Regions from separate parts of the Homo sapiens genome. Here region 2 is linked to region 1. Evidence: promoter capture Hi-C in human tissues and cell types (Jung and others, 2019). All regions are on one chromosome and are shown on one strand. The core of a region is centred on a gene start or on the middle of the fragment in contact, and the rest is flanking DNA. Distances in the headings are between cores, read along the strand shown. Region 1 holds the start of PRR14L (proline rich 14 like). Region 2 overlaps MORC2 (MORC family CW-type zinc finger 2).

Region 1 (5,634 bases), core at 2,783-5,282:
GAAGCTCTAGAGCCCCTTCCCGCCTCTGGCCGGGGCACTGAGGGCTGGACCCTCTCCAGGTTCCCTGCGCCTCCTCCAGATACCCCGCCTACGCCCGCGCGGCCCGCGCTGTTCCGCCCCTAAGCCTGAAGCGCCTACTAGGCCCGCCCCGACCGTGTAGCGCTCACCTGAGAACCCGCGCCGCTCCGGTGGCTCCGCCCCGGGGCCCCGCCTCCTTCCCGCCCTCGCGCCCCCGCGCCGCTCTCGCCGGGCCTCCGTCTCGTCTCGGTGGCCGCACCACTTCCTCATCCGGGGCTCGAGCCGGGGGCGGGGCGTCGTGTGCGGCCTCTTCCTTGGGCCACCTCCTGGCGTTTCCTGCCCTCGAGCACTAGAGCCTCCCGCCCCACGGAGGAAATCCATTTCCTCCTAGTCTATCCGAAGTAGATCCATGGCCACAGAGCTTCGTTTCCGACTCAGTGATCTCCCCACAGGGGAAACGAGATCCGTCAGAGCTCCGTTTTCTGTTATATGAACGAGGTTAATGACTCATGTGGCCTCATTGGGCAGCTAAGAGGCGCCAACGAGAGTTTCTGGGAGGACTTCTGTAAAATGCAAGGGGCTGAGCACGCGAGAGTTAGGGTGATGGCCTCTGCTGGGAAGTGTCCACTTACGGGGGGCTTTTCAAACCCTTGCAAACTCTAAACGACGTTCTGCGCCCCTCAGGTTATTAATAAGAATGGCTGCCGTGGCTTCATAGTCCTTATGTAATCATTGCATCCCTATTACCTGATGGATGCAGGAGGCAGATACTATCCTATTTCACAAACCAGGAAACAGCCTGAGGACACAAAACCCTTCAGAAGGAAGCAAGGACGAATCCTGACCCGTTCCCAGAACGGGGCCTTTAACCAACATCCTTTGGTCATACCCAGGGCACTGCCTAAACTCGCGTCTGTCAGGATATCTTTCTCTCCAAGCAGAAAACCAGAGAGCTGGGTGGGCTGGGTCAGGCTCTGGCCAAGGACTCCTGACAATTGCCAGCTCCGCCTGCTGCCACTGATACCCCCGCCCCCTAGTCCAGTCCACCGTTTCTGACCTGAGCGGCAGCAACTCGATAGGGACTCCCTGCTTCCCCTCTTGAAGCCAGAGAGACCTTATAACTAGAATCGGTGTCTTGGGTCACGCCTCTCCTCTGCTGCTTCTAATCACACTGACTGCTAAATCTAAACGACACAGCACTTGTCTTAAATTTCTTTATATCTTTAATACTAACAGTGCCCATTTCTTACGGATTTGGAAAACTTAAAAATGTTGAAAGAAAAAACATGTTACACTGTAGTGAAAGATTCTGCAGTGGACCAAGGGGACCCTGGGACAGGACAAGCAACGTTCTTAAGCATGGATGCCTTTATGTTGGGACTCAGGAGAAGTTAGGTAAATAATGCAAGTGTTAAGTAATTGCAATTTTTTTGTTTGTTTGTTTTTTTGTTTTTGTTTTGAGATGAGGTCACCCTCACCCAGGCTGGAGTGCAGTGGCATGATCCCGTCTCACTGCCATCTCTGCCTGCCTGGCTCATGCGATCCTCCCACCTCAGCCTCCTAGTAGCTGGGATTACAGGTGCATGCTCAGCTAATTTTTGTATTTTTTGTAGAGACGGGGTTTTGCCATGTGGCCCAGGCTGGTCTCAAACTCCAGAGCTCAAGTAATCCGTCCGCCTTGGCCTCCCAAAGTTCTGGGATTACAGGCACCAATCACTGTAGCCGGGCCTTTTTTTTCCCCCAAGACCAGGTCTAGCTCTGTTGCCAAGGCTGCAGTGCAGTGGTTCTATCATAGCTCACTGCAACCTCAATTTTCTGGGCTCAAGTGATTCTTCTGCCTCAGCCTCCCAAGGGACTGGGACTACAGGCCAAGCCACCACTCCTGGCTGAAATTGTTTATCTTGTAATAAAACATATGTGATACAGTGGATTGCAACAGTTACAAAATTTTTTAAGAATAACAATGTTATGTTAAAAAATGTTTCTATGTTGCCACTTCAGGAGATACACCTAGATCCCCCAAGATAGTTTTTGTCTTTAGCAATGGTGGTTGATGGGACATTCTTCCATCCCTGGGGAAGCTAATAGGATTCTCTCTTCTTAGCCCTCAAGGGAATTTGATTCCTTCTCCTGAGAGATGTCCATAATGGGACATCTTAAAAAGGCAAATTTTTTTTTTTTTTTGAGACGGAGTCTCCCTCTGTCGCCCAGGCTGGAGTGCAGTGGCCCGATCTCGGCTCACTGCAACCTCTGCCTCCCGGGTTCATGCCATTCTCCCGCCTCAGCCTCCCGAGTAGCTGGGACTACAGGTGCCCGCCACCACGCCTGGCTAATTGTTTATAATTTTTAGTAGAGAGGGGGTTTCACCGTATTAGCCAGGATGGTCTTGATCTCCTGACCTCGTGATCCGCCCGCCTTGGCCTCCCAAAGTGCTGGGATTATAGGCTTCAGCCACCACGCCCGGCCAAAAGGCAAATATTTTAACTTTTTAATTTGGCAACTCTCATAAAGAAACTCTGAAGGCCAGGAGTGGTGGCTCACGCCTGTAATCCCAGCACTTTGGGAGGCCGAGGCAGGCGGATCACTCGAGGTCAGGAGTTCAAGACCAGCCTGGCCAACATGGTGAAACCCTGTCTCTACTAAAAATACAAAAATTAGCTGGGCATGGTAGCATGCGCCTGTAATCCCAGCTACTCAGGAGGCTGAGGCTGGAGAATCTCTTGAACCTGGGAGGCAGAGGTTGCAGTGAGCCGAGATCCTACCACTGCACTCCAGCCTGGTGTCAGAACGTGGCCCCGTCTCAAAAAAAAAAAAAAGAAAGAAAGAAACGAAACTTTGAAGCATTCAATTTTTTTTTTTTTTTTTTTTTTTGAGACAGTGTCTTGTTTTGTTGCCCAGGCTGGAGTGCAGTGGGGGCACCATCATAGCTCAATGCAGCTTCAAACTCCTGGGCTCAAACGATCCTCCTGCTTCAGGCTCCCCAGTAGCTAGGAGCACAGGTGCATCAACACCTGAGCAATTTTTGTTTTGTTTTGAGAAAGAGTCTTGCTGTGTCATCCAGGCTGGAGTGCAGTGGCACTATCACTGCTCACTGCAGCCTCAACCTTCCAGCCTCAAGTGATCTTCCTGCCTCAGCCTCCAGAGTAGCTGGGATTACAGGCACACATCACCAGACCCAGCTGTTTGTTTTTTGGCAGAAACGATGTCTCACTATGTTGCCCAGGCTGGTCTCAAACTTCTGGGCTGAAGTGCTTCTCCCGCTTTCGCCTCCCAAAGTGCTGGATTACAGGCGTGAGACACCGCGCCTGGTCGATTTCTATTTTTTAACACAAAGCCGTATTATTTGGGGCAAGTCGATTTCATTATCTGGACCTCAATTCTTCCACTGGATAAACATTTCTTCCTTCCTTCAAATGTCCATTGAGCGTCTAGTTTTGTGCCGGACACTGCTCTTGGTGCTGAGCATTAAGTGATGAACAAAACAGACAAGGTGGAGGAAGATAAATGATAAACAAGTCAATAAAGAGATGAGACATAGAAATTTCAGCTAGTGTTAAAGCTATGAAGAAAATAAAACAAGGTTCTGTAACCAACTGGAGGCAGAGGTGCCATTTATTTAGTGGTCAGTGTGATTAGAAGAAGCAGAGGAGTGTCATGACCCAAAACACTCTTTCCAGTAGAATAAGATCTCTCGGGCTGCCAGAGTGGAAGCAGGCAGGCCCTTAGAATTGTAGCCGTCCAGACTAGAAAAACGGTGGACTGGAACAGGGTGACAGCAGCGAAGGCCGGCACTGGGTCCTGTGGCTCAGCAGGAGCAGAACCAAAAGTTGTGTTTCCCTTTAAGAGTTTGAGCCGCAGGGGCGGGGTTGAGGGAGGCTGGGGCTAGCAGAGGGCGGGAGGTCAGAATCAGGAAGAGCCTTCCCTTGGAGTGCGCGCGCGCGGTGCGGGGGCGGGATTTGGGCGAGTCCGCATGGCTGGCTCGGGCCCCGGATGAGGAAGTGCAGGGGGACCATAGAGACGAAGAGGTGGCGGCGGCCGGAGCGCCCCCGGCCTCTGTCGGCTCCGTAGGCTCAGGTAGACCTGGCGACGACGGGGCTGCAGCTGCAGGGGCTGAGCTGGCTGGGCAAGCGCGGGCCGCGGAGGAGGTCTCAGGGTAAGAGGCCGGGACTGGAAGGCTTCGGGCGTAGCCGCCCCGCCCCACTCCGCCCTAAAGGGACCCTCCGCCGGGTGGTGCTGCTAAAGGGGAGTCCAGGCCCCCCGCCCTCTCGGGGCGCGGAAAGGAACCAAGGCTGCCCTGTGGGCGGCGGAACGACCCAGGGAGAGGGAGGAGACCAGGCCCCGCGTCGCTAGAGAAAAGCGGCTTCTCCGAGTCATGGCTCCGACGCGGGAGAGAGACTCCTCTTCAACCTCGATACAACAGGGATCCCCCAACTTATCTCCTCGGAGAGGACGACGCCCCTTATCGGAGGCGTACGCTCTTTCTTAGCGCTCATCCGTTGGTCAGCAGAGGGAGACCCACTCCCAGGGTTCGAGGGGGATTCTGAACTTATCCTGAGGAGGAGTAAAAGATAACCCCTAAATGAGACCTTTCCCCCAACTTTGGTCAGCGTCACCCAGGTGAAGAGTGAGACCCAACTTGCCTGAAAGTGACAGAGGGGATCTTTCTTCCCAGTAAGAAAGAGACTTACCTTCCTCCTTTATTTTTCGCCTGTACCCCAAGATACGGAGAGGAAGACCTTGAAATTTTACTTTATGGTATCAGAAATCAACCTTTCTCCCTCTCCCCTCGTGATGTCCACAGAGAGACCCTCGCTTCTCTTCTTCCCTTTAAGCCTCTTGGTGTGCAGTGAGCTCCTTTCCCTTGCATTATTAAGAGCATGGCTTTTGGAGTGTAATCGTTGCAAACCTGGGTCTCTCACTTAACGTCTTTGTGACCTTGACTATTTGTTTAACTTGTCTGAATCTCAGTCCATCTCCAATTTGGGTTCTGTTTTCTTAGAATTGTCATGCGGGCTAAGGGAGCATTTGTGTAAATACTAGTTATATAGTAAGCTTTTGGTAAGCTGTTGCTATTACTATTACTTAATCTGTTAAAAAAGAAAACTAATATCTTGCACAGAGAAGCATATTTTTCCATGCATGCCCCTCGCAGCCTCCATCACAAGTGTTCAACCATCCTTTCTCACTGGAGTGGAAGACTCCCTCCCACTTAGGGGTTAGAGAAAGAGACACTTCCAGTCCCCTTAGATCCTGCTGTTCAATACTTTCCCAAATTAACAAAGAGGGCCTCACTGAAAATAATCAGTAAAAAAAAGACTTAGCTTTTGGAAACAGGTCTGTGCTCTTAAGAGAAAGTGAGACCTGATGCCAGACGCCAGCACTTCCTTTGTCCACAGAAGGTATCACTTCTTCCTGACTGGTTAGAGATGCCCTCTCCCACTTCCCTGACTTACTGTAGTGACAAAAAATCTTCCATCTGCACATCCTTCCCACCCCCCCAAGTGGGCGATTCCATATTCTTCCTGTCTTTTGCTCTCCCAAGAAAATGAAGACTCTATACCTTTGAGGAGAGATCTCTTCCCTCTTGTATATGGAAAATGACACAGATTGTTTCTT
Region 2 (5,811 bases), core at 1,203-3,702, 800 kb after region 1:
TTTTTTAGTCATTTGAATACTAAAAATTTGAAAGCAGAATGGAGGAAGACAGCTTTTTTTTTTTTTTTTTTTTGAGATGGAGTCTTACCTTGTCACCCAGGCTGGAGTGCAGTGGCACGATCTTGCCTCACTGCAACCTCCATCTCCCAGGTTCAAGCAATTCTGCCTCAGACTCCCAAGTAGCTGGGATTACAGGCGCCCACCACCACACCCGGCTAATTTTTTGTATTTTTAGTAGCGACGGGGTTTCACCACGTCGGCCAGGCTGGTCTCAAACTCATGACCTCAGGTGATCTGCCTGCCTCGGCCTCCCAAAGTGCTGGGATTACAGGCGTGAGCCACCACACCTGGCCGGAAGACAGCTTTTAAATACAATTCGACTAGTGTGATGTGTTTTTTTCTGACAGACTTTTCTGAAATCCTCTGAAATGTGTGAGGTGATATTTTGAGTAGCATGAACTAGGTTCTGAGAAGTCTGTATGTTTACATGGGAATGAAATAACCCCTCTTCATGGACCCTTTTGATGAATGGGAACAAGCACACAACTAAGTAGTAATTCTCAGAACCACTAATGTCATATAATTATGAAGAATCTGCCCCAGATTTGATGAATTTCTCATGTCTGCTATACTTTGGAGCAAAGAAAATCCTCAGAGCAGCTAAAAGTCAGCTGTACTGCTTCAATTCTGAAAGCCTTTTGTTCAAAAGGCTCTGCCAAAGTGGTAAAAATAAGGCTTCTTTTCTCTCTAGAAGAAAGTAACAGGAAATAGGGGCACACAGGAAAAGAATGTTAGAAGATGATTACTAAATGCTCAGGCCAAGGCTGGGCGTGGTGGCTCACACCTGTAATCCCAACACTTTGGGAAGCCGAGGCAGGCGGACCACCTTAGGTCGGGTGTTTGAGACCAGCCTGACCAACATGGAGAAACCCTGTCTCTACTAAAAATACAAAATTAGCCGGGTGTGGTGGTGCATGCCTCTAATCCCAGCTACTCGGGAGGCTGAAGCAGGAGAATCGCTTAAACCCAGGAGGTGGAAGTTGCCATGAGCCAAGATCGCACCATTGCACTCCAGCCTGGGCAACAAGAGCGAAGCTCCGTCTCAAAAAAAAAAAAAAAAAAAAAAATGCTCAGGCCAGATGGAGGTGCCTTTCCAAGCCAAAGCATGTATCTTACATCTGAGTGTGCTTTCTCAGGAATGGTAACAGCTACCGCTGGAAAAATAGGGCTTATTTAATCAATGCACAGATGCTAAAGCAGAGAATGGGCCTCTTCTCCAAGTGATGTTGAAGGTACAAATCGTAATGGTCAAGTCTACTTGGAAGACGTTTTTTAAAAAAGATCATCTCTGCTGTCTCCTACTACATTTGGTGGGTAAATTTCAGCAAGGAAGTTTAGTTCCTGACACTCAGAATGAAGTTGGATTTCAATTTAAATGAAAAAGGACCCAGTGTGTCTTTATTCTGTGCTCAGTACAACTCCTGTTATGCTTTGGGAAATGTCCAGAGAGGAGGAGATGGGGGTCTTTGCTTTAAGAACTTAGTCTTTAATTGGAGAGACAATTAATGCACTATGGATAATTAGAGAACAATAACTAGATCTTGAGGGAACAGTCAAGACAGTTAAGGATTAAATGGTGTGATAGAAGCACTAAGCACCATAGCATTTTGGAAAAAGACTTGATTTACTTCAAGTACCAGGAGATTGGGATTCTTGGCTAAGGGATCTTTAACCCTACACTTTTCTACCACAGGGCCTTGTTAACACATTCAACAGGAGAAATCAGTCCGTGGAATCTTTTTTTTTCACCCAGGCTGGAATGCAGTGTGCTATCTAGGCTCACTGCAACCTCCACCTCTCGGGCTCAAGTGATCCTCCTACCTCAGCCTCCCGAGCAGCTGAGACTACAGGCACACACCACCATACCTGGTTAATTTTTGTATATATATTTTTTCACCATGTTGCCCAGGCTGGTCTCAAACTCCTGAGCTCAAGTAATCTGACTGCCTTGGCCCCCCAAAGTGCTGGGCTTACAGGCTGAGCCGATGCGCTTGGCCAGTAATAATCTTAATACTATAAAGTTCTTGTTGTTAGTTCATGGGGGAAAGTATTTTCTTATCTCCACTTCTGAAACTGATTGATAACTGGACTTGGAAATCTTTCCAAACATCAGATGTAGTTTGAAGTCACCACAAAGTCACATTTAAAGACCATTTTTAAACCTAAAAAGGGCAAAAAAGGAGCCAGCCTCTCAAAGTGTAGAGGTGTTCATTTACCCAAAGCATATTATTATTAGTTGGATTATTATTATAGACCATAATATGCCTGTCATAAGCAGACTGTTTTTGTTGACTTTCTTGACCTTCTGGGGTAGGTAGTGCCACCTCCTTGGAAGAAAGATCCTTTTCGTGATGCCAGGGCAATGATTAACACATGGAAAATTGGAGCAAATGAAACTGCAATTAATACTGCTCAAACAGATTGCAGAGTATGATGAAGAACTTGGATGTCATTTTATTGCAGCCTCTCCTGGGGACACCATTATTTTATCACCTTTGACTTTTGGATGTATAGCTCCATTTGACATCTCTTGTCTTTTCCTGCTTTCTTTCTTTATTCTTCCCAGTGGGAGTTAGATGAAGAATGTCTGGCTTGCAGAAGCCAGACTTGGCCATTCTGGGAGATGTGCAGACTTTCAGATTGGCTTTGACAGTCTTACAGAGCTGTTCCCAGGATATGAAGCACAGCTGCAAAGCAGGCAGTTCGGCTTTGCCTTCTCTTACTTTCAAGATGTGTGATGGGAGGCGGGGAACATACAACCCCCAGCTGCTTAGACTCTTCTTTATCCAGAATTCCCCTTCCTTTATCTTTGGAGGCTTCAGATATCACTCAGTTGACTGATTAAATATCAGGTGATAGGAATCTATCTCTATGGTGGAATATATGAGGAGATAGTTTTGAGCAGGGACGCCTTCGAGTTCTTGCTTGCTCTAGTTTAGTGCTTCTCAAAAGGTGGTCCATCCACAGATGTTGTCAATATCATCTTGGAACTTGTTAGAAATGCGAATGCCCCACCTCAGACGTACCCAGACTATCCAGGGGGAGCCCAGAATCTATTTTCACAAGCTCTTTGGATAATTCTTACCCATACTACATTTTGCTCTAGCCAATACTTTTCTAAGCTTCCTTCAGCTTAAACCCTCCTGTCCTTTACTTCCTAGCTTATCTGCTGCAGGCAGTAGAATCCATTAGATGTAAGCTCCATGAAGACAGTGATCGCATATGTACTGTTCACTGCTCTTGTCCTCATCATAACCAGGCACAGAAGAGCTGATCACTAAGTAGTCATTAAATAAACAAGTGATTGGCATAAGCATTTGAACAAGGTGAAGAGACCACACTGTCTGTTTACAAAGTTGAAGAAGTCAATGCTGTCTTAGTCTTTCTTGGCCCTGAGGCAGTATTGCATGTGGCCATGGACCTAGACACTACTAGCCATTTATAGGCTGTCAGTTACTATGTAGCCAGGAGGATCCCCCCAGTGTCATCTCTTACCCTTTAAACTACACGAAAAAGCTTTGAAATGAAGTCCTTGAGCCAGAAAAGGATACCAGCCCCACTGTTAAGTGATGATTGTGTGCTAAAGCAGCCTAAGAGTTCTATCCTAACACAAGAGCCTAGAAAGTAACTTCTTAGGCAGTGTCCAAAGAATGCCAGTAGTCCTTGGGGACTTTTCAGAGGTGCTTGGCTTGAATCAATTTCTAGATCCCAAAGCAGAGTCTTCATGCACATTTTGCGGCTGTAGTGTACAGCAAATGGCTCTTGGCTAGGTTTAGAATGCTGCTTTTACCATTCTCTGTACCTGACCCAGTTTGAGTCTCCTTATGACACTTGGCTTCCTCCAGATGGAAATTTTGAAGCCTTTTTGGACTTTTATTGTACTTATTCTTGATTGCCACGTCTCATTTGGATTCCCCAGACTCTGATTAGAGGCACTGCCACCAGGAGAGATTTTATCTAACCAATAGTACTTCCAGGAAGATCCTCACCCTTGTACTTTCAAGAAGCACTTGTAATTAATGTTCAGCTTCCTGAACACTGAGTGGTACTTGAAAATCTCTGTGGTTTATAGCCTTACAGAAGCTACTCTGGAGGCTGAGGCAGGAGAATCGCTTGAACCTGGGAGGCAGAGGTTGCAGTGAGCCGAGATCACGCCGTTGCACTCCAGCCTGGGCGACAGAGTGAGACTCCATTTCAAAAAAAAAAAAAATAGCATTTTAATTTACATTAATAAGTCTATTTGACAGAGGGCAGTCCCTACTCACTTGAATTTTTAGCCTGAAGAAAGGACAAAGAGCATTTAAAACAGATTTCTCAGCTTAGATAGTTGTACAAAATTGGTTAACTGAAGCTTGGGGGAGATTCCGAAATCATCAGGGACCAGGCTGCAGAGCAGCCTTGGGCTTGCCCTTGTAATACCTTACACAGACCTCTTTCCTCTTAGAAATGCTACCTTTATCCCTGTGCCAGTCAGTAGACTGAATAGCATCTATATGGGAAGTTGGCTTGCTTGGCTTGTGTGGGTCTCCTCCCTATACCTCTGCCTTACATCCTTCTCTTCTTTGTGTCTACCAACTTCCTTGATTCCAAGGCTGGTTTCTCTTTTGCTCACCTAGTCCTCATCATTGGGTCAAAAGGCACCTTGGAAGCTAGTATAGCCTGTTTCCATATTTGGGAATCGCTTCTCCATTGACCATGACATGCTTGGACCCAGACCACTTTCAGTTAACCACTTTCTGCTGCAGAAGACAACTGCTGAGAGAAGACGTTCTTTTCACTAGAATGGCAGCCGTAGTTTGTTGTGTTCCTTTTCTGTTGGCCAGGAAACCCCACCACAGCTGCTGTGCATCTTATTGTCAAAGGACCATTCCTTCTTCCCATCAGGCAGGTCCAGCTAGGAACAAGGCACCTCCACGTTGTACCATGTGCCTTCTCACTGTTGGGATGGGGAGCCCTTTCAAGGACCATAGCTAGCAGGGGATATGACAGTAAATGCAGATAGCCCAGAATGCCAGTCAGCCTAGGGATGGTCATGTATAGACACAGTACTTCATCTTTTAGATAGCAGCTTCCACTGCTGTGCCCATACCATGTCTGGTTTCATCACTTTGAAGGATACCCCAGACTTAATTCACAAAGGAGGCATCCTGTTGAGTTTGAGCAGTATTGATAAAGTACAGTGTGTGGTAGTTGGAGTACTTTAGTGCTTGGGGTCTATGGCATAGGGCAGAAGTGATAGTAATCCAGGTGGAGTGAGCAGAAGGATAGGATGATTGAGATATGTGTGAGGTATGTGCATATTCAGTGGTAGTGGGTATGATTAGATGCTGGACCAGATATTCCTGCCTTCAAAGGTTCTCCCAAGCTTTGTCATGATCTAGAAAACATTGGAGAACCTTGGATGGGAATTTGCAACCTCAAGGACCCTGAAGTTTAATTCACACCAGCGTAGAAAGTTTAGGCTTGACCTGACCTTTTTGGACCAAGCTTCACATTGATCTGCCTTCTGATCATAGGCATGTTGCCACCCTGTGGTGGGTAACGGCCCAGTAATGGCAGCTGCTTCTTTTACAGAAAGACGAGAGGACCTTCGAGGAGGATTTATGCTTTGCTTTTTGGATGATGGAGCAGGAATGGATCCAAGTAAGTGATGAGATTATTGTTTTGGGGGGTGGGGGGGTGCGATGTAACCATTTTTACAAAATACTTATTGTGTGAACTTGTTTTTCTGTTGCCTCCAATGTTATGTCT

Evidence for each region. Contacts are between HindIII fragments. The study calls those that stand out against the background at their distance.
Region 2: a contact is called between a fragment that was not itself captured here and the fragment with the promoter of PRR14L in region 1, in 1 of the 25 tissues and cell types used here (dorsolateral prefrontal cortex).

Annotation. Positions count from the first base shown.
Region 1 is chr22:31,748,530-31,754,163 of GRCh38, reverse strand. It overlaps PRR14L (proline rich 14 like), which reads left to right and starts at 4,032. Exons shown (of 9, transcript NM_173566.3): 1 at 4,032-4,171. DEPDC5 (DEP domain containing 5, GATOR1 subcomplex subunit) reads right to left here and starts at 145. Exons shown (of 43, transcript NM_001242896.3): 1 at 1-145. RefSeq lists a silencer at 71-380 and enhancers at 3,807-4,101, 3,591-4,150, 4,390-5,022. The HindIII fragment of the contact is 11,409 bases long and covers 1-5,634 here.
Region 2 is chr22:30,950,269-30,956,079 of GRCh38, reverse strand. It overlaps MORC2 (MORC family CW-type zinc finger 2), which reads left to right. Exons shown (of 26, transcript NM_001303256.3): 4 at 5,635-5,703. Among named protein-coding and RNA genes, the nearest start is that of MORC2, 16 kb to the left of the region's middle. The HindIII fragment of the contact is 6,988 bases long and covers 1-5,811 here.